Regions from separate parts of the Homo sapiens genome. Here region 1 is linked to region 2. Evidence: promoter capture Hi-C in human tissues and cell types (Jung and others, 2019). All regions are on one chromosome and are shown on one strand. The core of a region is centred on a gene start or on the middle of the fragment in contact, and the rest is flanking DNA. Distances in the headings are between cores, read along the strand shown.

Region 1 (6,715 bases), core at 1,784-4,283, 58 kb before region 2:
CCTACTTGCTATTATTTTATTACTGTCAATGTTTGCCTTCAGATCTGTTGTTGCTTTATATATTTAGGTGCTTTGATGTTGGGCACATATATATTTATAATTGTTACATCTTTCTGTTGTATTGACCCTTTTATCATTATATAATGACTTTTGTTCCCTCTTGTGATGATTTCTGACTTAAAGTTTATTTTGTCTGATAAAAGTTTAGCCACTCATGTTCTCTTCCGGTTACTTACTTGCATGGAATACCTTTCTCTACCCTTTTACTTTCAGCTTATGTGTGTCTTTAAATCTAAAGTGAGTCTTTTGTAGACAGCATGTAGTTGGGTCTTGTTTTCATCCATTCACTCATACTATATCTTTTGATTTGAGAGTTAAAGTAATGATTGATAGGTAAGGACTTACTATTACCATTTTGTTGGTTGCTTTCTGTTTTGTGGTTCTACTATTCCTCTCTTTTTCTCTTTGTGATTTGATTTTTATTTTTGTAGTGGGGTATTTTGGTTCTTTTTATCTTTTGTGTATCTACTGTGCTTTTTTGTTCATCGGGTTTGCATCAAACATTTTATAGTTATAGCACTCTGTCTTACGCTGAGAAGAAATTACTTTCAATGACGTATAGAAACTCTACACTTTAGTCCCCATTCACACACCTAATGTAATTAATTTCAGGTTTTACTTTATTTTTGAGACAGGGTCTTGCTCTGTCACCTAGGCTGGAGTGCAGTGGTGCGATCTTGGCTCACTGCAGCCTCTGCCTCCCGGGTTCAAGTGATTCTCCTACCTCAGCCTCCTGAGTAGCTGGGACTACAGGCACACACCACCACACCTGGCTAATTTTTTATATTTTTAGTAGAGATGGGGTTTCACCATGTTGGCCAGGCTGGTCTCTAACTCCTGGCCTCAAGTGATCTGCCTTCCTCAGCTTCCCAGAGTGCTGGGATTACAGGCACGAGCCACTGTGGCCAGCTGCATCTTTTAGTTTCTACTTGAACTTCCTTTAGTTGCTCTCATAAGGCTGGTGTAGTCATGACAAACTCCAGTTTTTGTTTGTCTGGAAAAGTCTTTATCTCTCCTTCATTCTTAAAGGGCAATTTTGATGAGTAAAGTATTCCTGGTTGGCAGGTTTTTTTTTCTTTCTTTTAGTACTTTGAATATATTATCTCCCGCTTTCCTGGCCTGCAAGGTTTCAGCTGAGAAATTCACTGATAGTCTTATAGAAGCTTCCTTGTATATTATATGACAAGTAGGTTTTCTCTTGCTGCTTTCAGATTTTTTCTTTTTGAGTTTTAACAACTTAATTATAATGAGTCTTGGTGTTTAACTTATTTGGAGACCTTTGGGCTTCATGAATTGAAATGTCCCTTTTCCTCCCTAGATTTGTTAAACTGTTAGCCTTTAGTTTTTAAAAATAAGAAGCTTTCTGCCCCTTTTTCTTCTCCTTAACTCCCATATGCCTGTATTATTTTCACTTGATGTTGTCCCATAAGTCCTGTATACTTTCCACATTCTTTTTTATTCTTTTTTCTTTTTGTCCCTCTAATGCTATCATTTCAAATGACCTGTCTTTTAAGTTTCCCAGTTCTTTTCTTCTGCCTGAGTCTGCTGTTGAAGCTGTCTCTTGAGCTTTTCAGTTGAGTCATTGTATTCTTCAGCTCCAGGATTTCTATTTGCTTCTTTTTTATGGTTTCTGTTTCTTTATTAAACATCTCTCTTTATTCATTTATTTGCTTTCCTGATTTTGTTTAGTTGTAGTTCATTGAGCTTCTTTAAGATGATTATTTTGGATTCTTTGTCATGCAATTCATACATCTCTATTTATTTAGGGCCAGTTACTAGAGGTTTATTAGTTTCCTTTGGTGGTGTCATTTTTGCCTGGTTCTTTATAATTCATATAGCCTTGCAATGGAGTCTATGCATTTGAAGGAGCAGGGGCCTTCCAGTTTTTATGGACTCGTTCGCCAAGTAAATACCTTCTCCTATTGAGTCCCTGGGTTGATGGGATTGCCTGTGGTATTGTGATTAAGCAGGGCTGAAGCTAGATTATGGGGCTACATTAGGGTTCACAGTCAGTGGGCGTACCACTAGGGGCATGGACAAGTATGTCCCATGGATGGGGAGAGCTGTCTCTGGAACTCAATAGGGTGGGACCCAAGCTGGGTCCCAGGCTGGTTTGGGTTTATGTTTGGGTCCAATCAGCAGCCCTTTTACCAGAGGAATGGACAGGCATGATTTCCACAAGGCCCCTGTTAAGGCAGGACTTCCTCTTGGCCACAGTAGAGCAGGGCTGGAGCCAGGTCAGAGTGCTGCTTTGAGTCTGCAGTTGGGTCTGGTTGGTGGATCTGTTACTAGGGGCATCAACAGACATGGTTCCTTCCCAGGATGGATGAGGCTGGTGGTAGGACTGCAGACAAGTGGGACTGGAGCCGGGTTTACAAGGGACAGGCTGATTCTGGGTCTGTAGCTGAAAGGTCAGTGGGCCTGCCTTCTCCAAGCAGCCCTTCCTAGTCTTGGGCTCCACCAAGGTTTCATAACCACCTACCTCAATCCTAAGGTTCTTACAATGGCACTTATGGCCATGGATGGCTTCCAAACTATTGTTTCTGTAGGAGGACCAGGGCTGGGGACATTCTCTTTTGCTATCTTGCTTACGTCACCTACAACCTACTTTAAAAGTAAATTTGTTCTAATGAGCATAATGAGAAACAAAGATTTTAAAAATAAACTAAATAATTAATGCCTAAGTAATTCCAGGTTAATTTTGTATACTCCAGTTCTTCCTATCAGGTATTTGTCATTCAGAGAGGTAATAGTATGAAAAGAATATTTTAGGAGTATATGAGAATATTGTATCTTTTTTTAGAATATGGTTGGCTAAAATATTTACATCTGCTCCTAAAATATTCCTGCATAAGCTTGCAGTGAGCCGAGATTGCACCACTGCACTCCAGCCTGGGCGACAGAGCAAGACTCCGTCTCAAAAAAAAAAACAAACCTATATATATACATATATATGTATATATGTATTCCTGCATAATATTATCTTGGTGTTTATATTACCTGTGAAGCTGTAAGTATATTCTTTTATTTCTGTAACAATTTGACAATTGAAGAAAAGTATGTGTTGAATTTTTAGCATCTACTACACACACACGCACACACACACACACACACACACTACTGTTGTACTTTGTAATATCAAGACACTGATAAAAGTTTTGGTGTTGTATTGTTATGGATTAAGACAAAAAAATTAAAAGATGAGATGGAGGAGCTCTTTCTATTGTAGGATTATCTATTGTTTTCATGTTTGATCTGTAGTGAAGTATATTAGTGAAATAGAGAAACAGAATGATGAGTACTAAGCTATTCATAAAATTTCAGTAGTGTGTAATACTTGTAGTTTTGAAACAAAATCAGCTAATATCACCTTGACTTTTCCCCATCTTCCTATTAAAAAAAATTGTTTTAATTCTGGATTTATGTTTTCTAATTTTCTTTTCCAGTTACCCTGCAGTTTGTGAATTTTTGCAGAACAATAATTTACTATCAATTATCAGAGCCCATGAAGCCCAAGATGCTGGGTAAGTTACATTAAAATTGTACCAAATATCGCTGCAGAGTCTTTGCATTTAATATGCAGACAGATGGACTTTCATCTCTTTTTCAGGTATCGAATGTACAGGAAGAGCCAAGCCACAGGCTTTCCATCACTTATTACAATTTTCTCTGCCCCCAATTACCTAGATGTCTATAACAATAAAGGTAAAGGAATCCAGCAATATTTGAGTTTGAATTTATGAGTAAACGTGAGCTCTGGTTTAATTGTATGTACGTATGTGTGTTTGTGTCATTTTAAAACATAAATTTTAAATAAGAAAAAAAGGGGTCTTAGTTGAAACAAAGGCCAAGAAATTTAGAATTTATGCTGCTGCTTGGTCTTTATCTCCTAAGGATTACTGGCTTCTTTGTGAGTATAAATAATGATCATAATAGGTCAGATTGATACTACAGAATCAAAGTATAAGAAGAATAAATTGCTTCAGGCTCATGCCAGAATAGTTAGCATAAATTATTGGTTTTGGTGAATTTAATGTGTTTATAACAGTATCTCAAAGTCACCATTGGTATTTTAATCTTTGTGAATTATTAAACTATTTTTGTTTTTCTTGAGATATGGTCTAGGTAGAGTGACCTAGTGTACAAAGTCAAAAAAAAACCTTCATTTTTAGTTTAAACCCTGCCAGAAACGAATACTGTGACTTTGAGTGAGTCACATTATCTTTCTAATCTTCAGTTTCCCATATGAAAAAAGAAGAATGGATATATACATGCCTTTTGTTCCAGAAATTTTACTTCTAAGACTTTATCCTGTTAAAGTCTTTTTTTTAATTTAAAACTTTTATGATTAATAGTTTATAAGTTTTCTATCGAGGCAGTGGTCCTACTAAAAACTTCATATTTCTGTAACTATTTTGTTGTTTATAAAGTATGACTATAAATTAATAGGACTTTGAAAATAAACATGCCAGAACAAACATATCCAAATGAGTATTGTCCCTTCAAAGTAGTTACCTTGGGAGGCTACACACCTATTCCAACAATGCTGTCCTTGTTCAAAAACATTTTTGGAACTCCTCTTTTGGCATTGCCTTCAGAGTCTGCGACACATTCTTTTGATTATCCTCAATGATGGGAAATCTTCGTCCTTTGAGGGTGGATTTGATTTTTGGACAGCCAAAAGTCATTCGGAGTCAAGACTGATAAATAAGGTGAGTGATCAAGCTAGATGATACCATTTGGGGTCAGAAACAAGGTATGATTATAAGGTAATGAGACTGGTTTTTCTCGTGTTGCTGATACAGTGGCTCTGGAGGCACTTCCAAAAGAGGAGTTCCAAAAACGTTTTGAGTAATGGCAGCATCTCTGGATTAATTATATGGTAAGGCAACAAGTTGTGCTGAAAAGAACACAAAGCAAGGAGTCAGTCTAGTCCTGCTTCACTTTTAAGTGTGTCACATTTAACAAGATACTTCTCTGAGCCTCATCTTTAAAATATCTGTCATATGGGGTTGTTGAAGATAAGTTGGAATAAGGAAAATGGATATTAAAGTGTTGTTCAAAATATAAATTACTATAATAATACAGATTTTACTGTTATTGTACCTGATGTGATAATATCAAAGGACCACACTCATCTGATAAAAAGGTCTGGTGTGTTTGTAGCTGGTGGTTTCTTAAGTCTCATTACTTTATAGTTATACCTTGTATATGCAGTTGGGGAGATAAGTTTCAAAGATGGCCAAAATATAATTAATATTTACTCTATTTAAAAGTAAACCATGGAATGGCACATCTCATTTAAATCCGATTTGGGTCAGTCATTTTAGTGTGTCCTCCAGTGACTTGTCTATTTTAAAAAGCATGTCTTTAACTTAAGTTCTGTCCTAGTCTTATGTTTTCATTTAACTTAGCATTCTTCTCTGAGCCTTATCTGTCCTACAATGCTCTGCTTCTCCCTAAGTTCATTTGTTATTTCCTTTTTCCTGATATTTCCAGTATATTAGCAACTTAGGTTTTATTCTTATTTATTCTCTTATCAATGGTGTGGACTGTTTGTGTTGTTAAACGTCTTCAAGGACTCTTGTGGCCCTAGATCTCCTATTTGTAATGAAGGTGTTTCTTTCTCACTTTCTTTTTTAACTTCATCAAAAAGAGTATCTATTGATTGCTCAATGGATTTATCAGTGTGCCAAGCTGAAACACGCCACCTAAGTCAGCAGGCACTATACAGCTCACTCACTGCTAGCTTGTTTTTTGTCTCAATCTAACCTGGTTTTGTTCTTGATTATTTCTTTAGCAAACTTTTAACATCACAGTCCTGGCCAGGCACAGTGGCTCATGCCTGTAATCTCAGCACTTTGGGAGGCCAAGGGGAGGATCACTTGAGGCCTAGAATTCAAGACCAGCCTGGGCAGCAAAATGTGACCCCATCTTTACAAAGAAAAATTTAAAAGTTAGCCAGGCAAGGTGGAGCATGCCTATAGTCCTAGCTACTCAGGAGGCTGAGGCAGTAGGATCCTTTGAGTCCAGTAGTTCGAGGCTGCAGTGAGCTGTGATCACACCACTGCATTCCAGCCAGGCAATAGAGCAAGACCCTGTCTCTAAAAAATAAAAAAAAAAGTAAAAGCCACAGTTCATTCTACCTGAGTATTCTGTCGGCTTTGACATAATTAGTAACTTTTATCTCAAAACAGTCTTATTTTCATTGGTTGTTTCTTAGGCATTTTAGAAGGAAAAAGGCAGAAAATGTGGCATTTGAAACAGTCCCTGGGGGTACTCAGTTACTCCCCATACAAGTGCCTTCTTTTCTGAAAAAGGGAACTCTATTATTCTTTTTCTTCTTCCTTTTCTTCTACTGTTGCTCTTCTTTCTCTTTCTCTCTTTTCTTTTCTCTCTCTTTCTCTCTCTCTTTCTTTTCTTTCTTTTTCTTTCTGCTTCCTTTTCTTCTTTCTTTCTTTCTTTCTTTCTTTCTTTCTTTCTTTCTTTCTTTCTCTCCCTCTCTCTCTCTCTCTTTCTTTCTCTCTCTCTCTCTTTCTCTCGGTCTCTGTCACTTAGGTTGGAGCACAGTGGCAGGAACTTGATTCACTGCAGCCTCGACTTCCTGGGCTCAAGTGATCCTCCCACCTCAGCCTCCCAACTAGCTGGGACCACA
Region 2 (6,800 bases), core at 1-2,500:
GTGAGCGCGCCCACCTGCGCCTCTCCGCGCGGCCCGCCCTCCCCGGCGCCGGGCTCCTCTCCGCGCCCCTGTCGGCGCGGAACCCTGGCCTCGTCCGCGGCCCAGCTCCCTGGAGCCTCGCATCAGCGGGGGCGCCCCCGCGAGCTGCGCTCTCCCCGGCCGGAGCGCTCCTCCTCCAGCCCCCAGCCCGCAGGGTACTTTGCCCTCGGAGCGAAGGAGGCTCCAGAACTGGTAGAGCCGGGCCATCGGGCTGGGCACCTCCCCGCGGCGCCCGCAGCGCGGAGTCCACTGACCGGCTCAAAGGTCTGGGAATCTCGGGGCGGCCGCGAGCCGGCCTCGGGGACTGGGGTGGGGGCGGTGCTGGGAACAGAGGCTAGGCCTGGGCCCAAGGGGAAGGCAGCCGGGGATGGAGCGGACAGACCGCTGGTGCTCTTGATAGATTCTCGCAGCACTTGCGTCCCCAGGGCAGCCCCAGGATGGGTGCTGGGCAGGGTGGTGCCCAGCCTGGCACCGCGGCTTCCTGCCTGGATTGGCTCCTGGCTCCAGAGCTAGAGGCTCAGGAAATCCCACAGGGGTCTGTCTGCAAGGGCACTTCCTTGCCCAGCGGAGGGGCTGTGGATGGGAGGCCTGTCACCCCGGCTGTCTGTCGGGCAGCATCAGGAATCTGGGGGTGGGTGTGTCCAGCTTGACAGATGAACCCTGGCCTCCTTGCCCTGGCAGCCGGCCCCTGGGGGAGGTGGGGAGCCCGGTCTTGCCCGTGTGATCCACTTTGCCAAGAACGAGGTGGGCAGCTAGGAGGCCCATGTGAAGACTCGGCCTCACCCCACCAGTCCTTCACCTGGCCAGTGACTTACACAGTCTGTACTGGTGCCAGCCTGTTCCTTGACCCGTCACTCCTGCTTCCTGAGCCCTGCTCTCCCTAGGCCACTCACCAGCCCTCCCCCAGAGTGGAGAGGAAGTACCGTGTGCTGTGGGTTTTGGGGACAGGAAGCAAGCGCTAGTGGGACTGAGCCCTGATGGTGGAGGAGGGGAGACTGAGGGGGTGCTGGCATCCCCTCCACTTGCCAGCCCCTGCCCCCCATGCTCCAGCAAGCCCCCTGCCTGGCAGCCTGGGCAGCCCCCTCCTGGGAGTCGCTCCCTGGGCTGAAGACTAAGGAAGGGAGAACCCAGAAGCATGGCTTCCCAGGGTGGGGGGAAGTGAAACCGGGCTGAGGGAGGGAGTTAGCCACTTCCTCTACCCACCCCAAAGCCCCTGAGTAGCTGCTCCGGGAGCTGTGGTGCCCTCTCCTTCTCCCTTTGGCTCCTCTCCTGCTGCCTTACAGTGCCCCCAGAGCCGGCTAGGGGCATGGACTTCACCTCCTGGTCCTCTCTTCCTCAGGTATGGCGTTGACGGTGGATGTGGCCGGGCCAGCGCCCTGGGGCTTCCGTATCACAGGGGGCAGGGATTTCCACACGCCCATCATGGTGACTAAGGTAAGGATGGTGGCTCAAAGAGATGAGAAGGTCCTGCCAGAAGCGAGGTCGGCCCTGTTCACCCCACTCTGCACAGATGGCTTGCTTTTTCTGTTCTGGAGCTAGGGATCTGCTGCTGCCTGGCGTGCTGGCTGTAAGGGAGCCGTGGCCCTTTGCCACGGGGATGTGGTGGCCACTTCAGGAACAGACCTTGGGAGTGAAAGGGAGCTGGGACCAGGACAGGGCCGGCTCTTGCCTCCCCAGTTGCTATCCCCACACTTGCAGGCAGCCATTTGGGGTGATTACTAGAACAAGAGCCCCGGAGTTCTTGGCAGTCTCCTCTTGACCTGGGCCCAGGCTGGGAACATTCACAGGAGGGCTGTGCAGGCAGCCACCTGCAAGGTGCGATTTGCACGGGCAAGGCTCTCTATCCAAAAGTATTTCCAAGCACAGTTCCTGAAATTCTGCCACTGCACATTCTTTGGGAGGCCCATTAGAATGCCAGTGTGGGGTGGGGGCTGCCACCTGCGCTCCTGGAGGGGATGGCTGATCAGCTGGGTGTCATGAGCAGGCAGAGGGACATGCAGGAGGGTGCAGGCCGGCCTGGGTCAAGCCAGCCTCTGTGTTTCTTGGGTAGCAGAGTGGGAAGTCCCTTCTCCAGCTGGGCCACGGTCTGAGCATGCCAGCTCCTCATCCCTACAGGTGGCCGAGCGGGGCAAAGCCAAGGACGCTGACCTCCGGCCTGGAGACATAATCGTGGCCATCAACGGGGAAAGCGCGGAGGGCATGCTGCATGCCGAGGCCCAGAGCAAGATCCGCCAGAGCCCCTCGCCCCTGCGGCTGCAGCTGGACCGGTAGGGCCTCCCGCTCTGCAGAGCCTGTGGCATTCCCCCTCCTCCACCACCCCACGTATTGAGCAGCCCTTGCTCCTGCCCATGGGCTAGAGCTCAGCCCTAAAGCGGCCTTCTTGGGCCCTCTCCACACCTTGGTGAGAAGGTCCTGGGCTCTGCTTCCTGCAGCAGGGTGGGCTGAGGGGTGTTCCCATGCCTGGTTGGGTAAAGGTGGGCGCCAGGCTGGGCGTGCAGTCACAGGCTGGGCAGGGCGAGCTGGCACCAGCCACCTTGAAGCCCGGGTTTGACTGGTTCCCAAGAGTGTGCAGGGCACAGGGCGTGGGCATGAAGTGGGTTGAAGAGGGGAACCTTCTGGGAAAGGTATGCCCGAGGCTGCATCCCCAGGACTCCTGCTTCCAACAGGGCATGGCCTTTGTTTAGTTCCCAGCTGGAAGTGAGGACTTGGGGGGCTCATTCCTCATAGAGGCTGTCTGTTCCTCCCCATCACTGAAGGCAGATGCCCGATCCTGGGTTACTCCTAGGGTTTTGAGCCTATAAGCCAAGGTGGGGCCAGGGTGGGGCCTGGAGGCCAAGCTATAGGGGGAACAGGTGGCTCCCTGGGGTGGGGCATTGCAGTGAGTCACAGATCGGGAATGCCAGGAGATCCCCGAGCCAGGAGAGCCCTCTGCACGGGCCTAGAACCTGAGTCAGACACCTCTTGCATCCTGGCCACCCCCACATTGTCCTGCTCTCTTCAGCCCTACCAAGCCCCTCCTTCTCCAACTGCCCTGCCCTGTGGTGTGGCAGAAGCCGGCTCCCTTCATGTCATTCAGGTCCCTGGGTGTTTGCAGGAGCGGGACCCCAAGAAGGAGGGTAGAGAGCACCTCATGGCATCTGGGAATGGGGCAGAAAGCTACAGGAGGCTGAGGGTCTGGCAGCGGAAGGGCAGGAGCCTCGGACTGTCTCTTCCTCTGGGGTTCTCTGGAGGGACCAGGGCTCGGGGGAGGTAGGCCTGGGCTGTAAGTCAGGCCTCTGGTTCTGCACCAGGCAAGCCCAGACTCCAGTCTCTTAATTTTTTTTTTTTTTTTTTTTTTGAGACAGAGTCTCGCTCTGTTGCCAGGCTGGAGTGCAGTAGCGTGATCTCGGCTCACTGCCACCTCTGCCTCCCGGGTTCAAGAGAGTCTCCTGACTCAGCCTCCTGAGTACCTGGGACTACAGGCGCGTGCCACCACGCCCAGCTAATTTTTGTATTTTTAGTAGAGATGGGGTTTCACCACGTTGGCCAGGATGGTCTCGATCTCCTGACCTCGTGATCCACTTGCCTCAGCCTCCCAAAGTGCTGGGATTACAGGTATTACACCGCGCCCGGCCCAGTCTCCTTACTTTTGCTGACGTGATGCCCACCCCCCCCCCCGCCCCCATCTCCCGCCTCCTACCCTCCCAGGTGACCTCTCTGGTATTCAGAAGCCCTGGGGCAGGAAGCAGGGCTCCAGGCTGGAGCCAGAGACTGAGCTCTCCTCACCCTGATCCCATGGCTCTCCCAGGAAGCGGAGGGTCCTGTTGCCCTACATCTCTAGAGGCAGCCTCACGGCCAGGAATGTGTGGCAAGATGGGACGAGGCAGGCTGTCCCTCAGCCCAGACTTCAGTTACCTCCCATTCAGGGCTCCAGCTGGGTTCCACTTTGGAAGAGGGTACCCAGGGAGCTGGGAGGGCGTGCCCCTCTCGCTGGTGGGGAGCTGGGCCTACTTGTCTGGAAGGAGGCAGGCGGGTCTCGCCCTTTGTTTAACTGGGGAGACCCCTGAGAAAGGGATCAGGAGTGACGCGCTCAAAGGCACCCTGGCCTCCAGTGGGCAGGGTGCACAGCTGGCCCAGTCACCGTGGGCTCTAGAACTTGAGGCAGCTCACTTTCCCTCTCTGGGTTTCAGTTTCTCCATGGGTTAAAATATAAAGGATTATTTCTATGAAATCAGTAATCAGGCCGGGCGCAGTGGCTCACACCTGTAATTTCAGCATTTTGGGAGGCCGAGTCGGGCGGATCACCTGAGGTCAGGAGTTCAAGACCAGCCTGGCCAATACGGCGAAACCCCGTCTCTACTGAAAATACAAAAATTAGCCGGGCATGCTAGTGGGCACCTGTAGTCCCAGCTACCTGGGGGGCTGAGGCAGGGAGAATTGCTTGAACCCAGGAGGTGGAGGTTGCAGTGAGCCGAGATTGCACCACTGCGCTCCAGCCTGGGTGACAGAGCGAGACTCCATCTCAAAAAACAAAAAAATCAGTAATCTTCCCCCAAATCAATCTACAAACCCGAGGCTGAGTGATATCAGTGACAAAGTCCAGGCAAAATAGAAAAAAAAAAAAAAAAAAAAAAAAAAAAAAGGGCAGGATAATGTGAGGACTCTCTAATAAAACTGAATGTTTGAACTTTCTGATGAAGTTATGTACGTTCTACTTTTTAGAACCAAACTATCCTTTCTTTTTTTGGGGTGGGTTTTGCTGTTGTTACTGTCGTTTGAGATGGAGTCTCACTCTGTCGCCCAGCCTGGAGTGCAGTGGTACAATTTTGGCTCACTGTAACCTCTGCCTCCCTGGGTCAAGCAATTCTCCTGCCTCAGCCTCCCAAGTAGCTGGTGTTACAGGCATGCGTCACTATGGCTTGGCTAAATTTTTTTTTTTTTTTTTTTAATTAGAGATGGGGTTTCACCTTGTTGATGACCAGGCTGGTCTGGAACTCCTAACTTCAAGAGATTCACCCTCCTTGGCCTCCCAAAGTGCTGGGATTACAGGCGTGAGCCACCGTGCCCGGCCTTGGTGTTTTTTTGAGACAGAATCTCGCTGTGTTGCCCAGGCTGGAAGGCAGTGGCACAATCACGGCTCACTACAACCTCCATCTCCTGGGCTCAAGCGATCCTCCCACCTCAACCTCCCAAGTAGCTGGGACTACCGGCATGCACCACCATGTGCAGCTACTTAAAAAAAAATTTTAGTAGTCATGAGGTCTTCCTATGTTGCCCAGGCTGGTCTTGAACTCTTGGGCTCAAGTGATCCTCCTGCCTTGGCTTCCCAAAGCGTTGGGATGATAGGCGTGGGTCAATGTGCCTGGCCAACTGTCCTTTCTTTTAAGGAACCATGGTTGTCATTGATGATAGTTGTTTGTCTTGAGTTTGACAAAGTTAAAAGTTGACAACCGGATGTCCAAATTTTCTGTAGCTTTTACTGGTGTTGAGAACTAGATCTGGGAACAGTTTTGGCCTCTTTTGGGGGTTGCAGGGTGCAGGGCCCCTGTGACATTCCCTCCCTCTGTTGCCTTCTCAGGTCTCAGGCTACGTCTCCAGGGCAGACCAATGGGGACAGCTCCTTGGAAGTGCTGGCGACTCGCTTCCAGGTAAGCTGGTGCCCTCCCCTGACAGCCTCAGCACCCTGATCACTGGTGCATGAAAGTGAGGCCCGAGGGCAGGGCGGCCTTGGCGGGGCAGCCCTGCCTTTCCTGACACAGTCACTCTCTCCACAGGGCTCCGTGAGGACATACACTGAGAGTCAGTCCTCCTTAAGGTCCTCCTACTCCAGCCCAACCTCCCTCAGCCCGAGGGCCGGCAGCCCCTTCTCACCACCACCCTCTAGCAGCTCCCTCACTGGAGAGGCAGCCATCAGCCGCAGGTGAGTGTGCCTGTGAGTGGGTACCCTGGTCGCCTGCGCTGCCAGCTCCAGGCTGGCTCCTCTGAGTCTCAGGAGCTCTGCTTGGGAGCCCGGGGCAGCATCCTCCCTGGGCAGGCTGGGGGTGGCCCTGGCACACACTGTCCCTTTCCCACTTTCAGCTTCCAGAGTCTGGCATGTTCCCCGGGCCTCCCCGCTGCTGACCGCCTGTCCTACTCAGGCCGCCCTGGAAGCCGACAGGTGAGGCTCCCTGGGGGAGGACAGGCTGGAGGAACAGAAGCACCTCCCGTTCCTGTGGGTTGCCAGTGCCCCGGGACTGCAGGCGGCCAGGCCCACCTGGGCAGCCATGGCCTCCTTCTCCTGGCCACAGGCATGCTCTGCTCCTGAGCCAGGGAGGCCATGCTTCTGGTCGTGGGCCACCTGTGCTGTGCCCAAGACCTGCCCAGCAGTGCCCAGTAGCCCGTCCATCTCCTGCACCCCTCCCCTCATCCCCCTCCCCTCCCATCCTGCTGACTTCCTCCCTGCCCAGTATGTTTCTCTTGGGCTGTGGCTGAAATAGTTTCGCTGCTGTTGTTGGGATGATTCCCTTTCGTCTCTGGCTGCATCTCTCGAACACATTCCTCCCCATTCCAAGACCCGGGCCTGCCTGACTCCCACCCACACCCTCCCTTCCTCCTCTGACTCAGCCCAGAGATGCCCCAGTGGGACTGCGGTTCTGCCTTGAGCGCTCTTGGCTTATTCTGTCTCCTCCTCCCCCTACCCCCGCCAGCTCCCCTGGACTCTCTTTCAGCCAGGTCCCAGTGGCCCCTGGTGACAGCCTAACCCCCTTCCTGGGTGGTATTTCTCCTCTTCAACGGTGGGGGAT

What was found. The method cuts DNA at HindIII sites, captures the fragments that hold promoters and counts their contacts. A contact is called where the count stands out against the background at its distance.
Region 1: a fragment that was not itself captured here is called in contact with the fragment with the promoter of PDLIM2 in region 2 in 1 of the 25 tissues and cell types used here (hippocampus).

The regions. Positions count from the first base shown.
Region 1 is chr8:22,518,985-22,525,699 of GRCh38, forward strand. PPP3CC (protein phosphatase 3 catalytic subunit gamma) reads left to right here. Exons shown (of 14, transcript NM_005605.5): 7 at 3,507-3,584; 8 at 3,671-3,765. All of the region lies in intron 1 of LOC124901905 (a long non-coding RNA gene), which reads right to left. Among named protein-coding and RNA genes, the nearest start is that of SORBS3, 30 kb to the right of the region's middle. The HindIII fragment of the contact is 6,953 bases long and covers 1-6,510 here.
Region 2 is chr8:22,579,225-22,586,024 of GRCh38, forward strand. It overlaps PDLIM2 (PDZ and LIM domain 2), which reads left to right and starts at 1,251. Exons shown (of 9, transcript NM_001368120.1): 1 at 1,251-1,473; 2 at 2,155-2,306; 3 at 5,597-5,666; 4 at 5,793-5,938; 5 at 6,097-6,175. The coding sequence starts at 1,381. RefSeq lists silencers at 38-107, 208-297, 308-467, 1,198-1,287, 2,852-3,146 and enhancers at 2,485-3,177, 5,452-6,121. The HindIII fragment of the contact is 15,508 bases long and covers 1-5,309 here.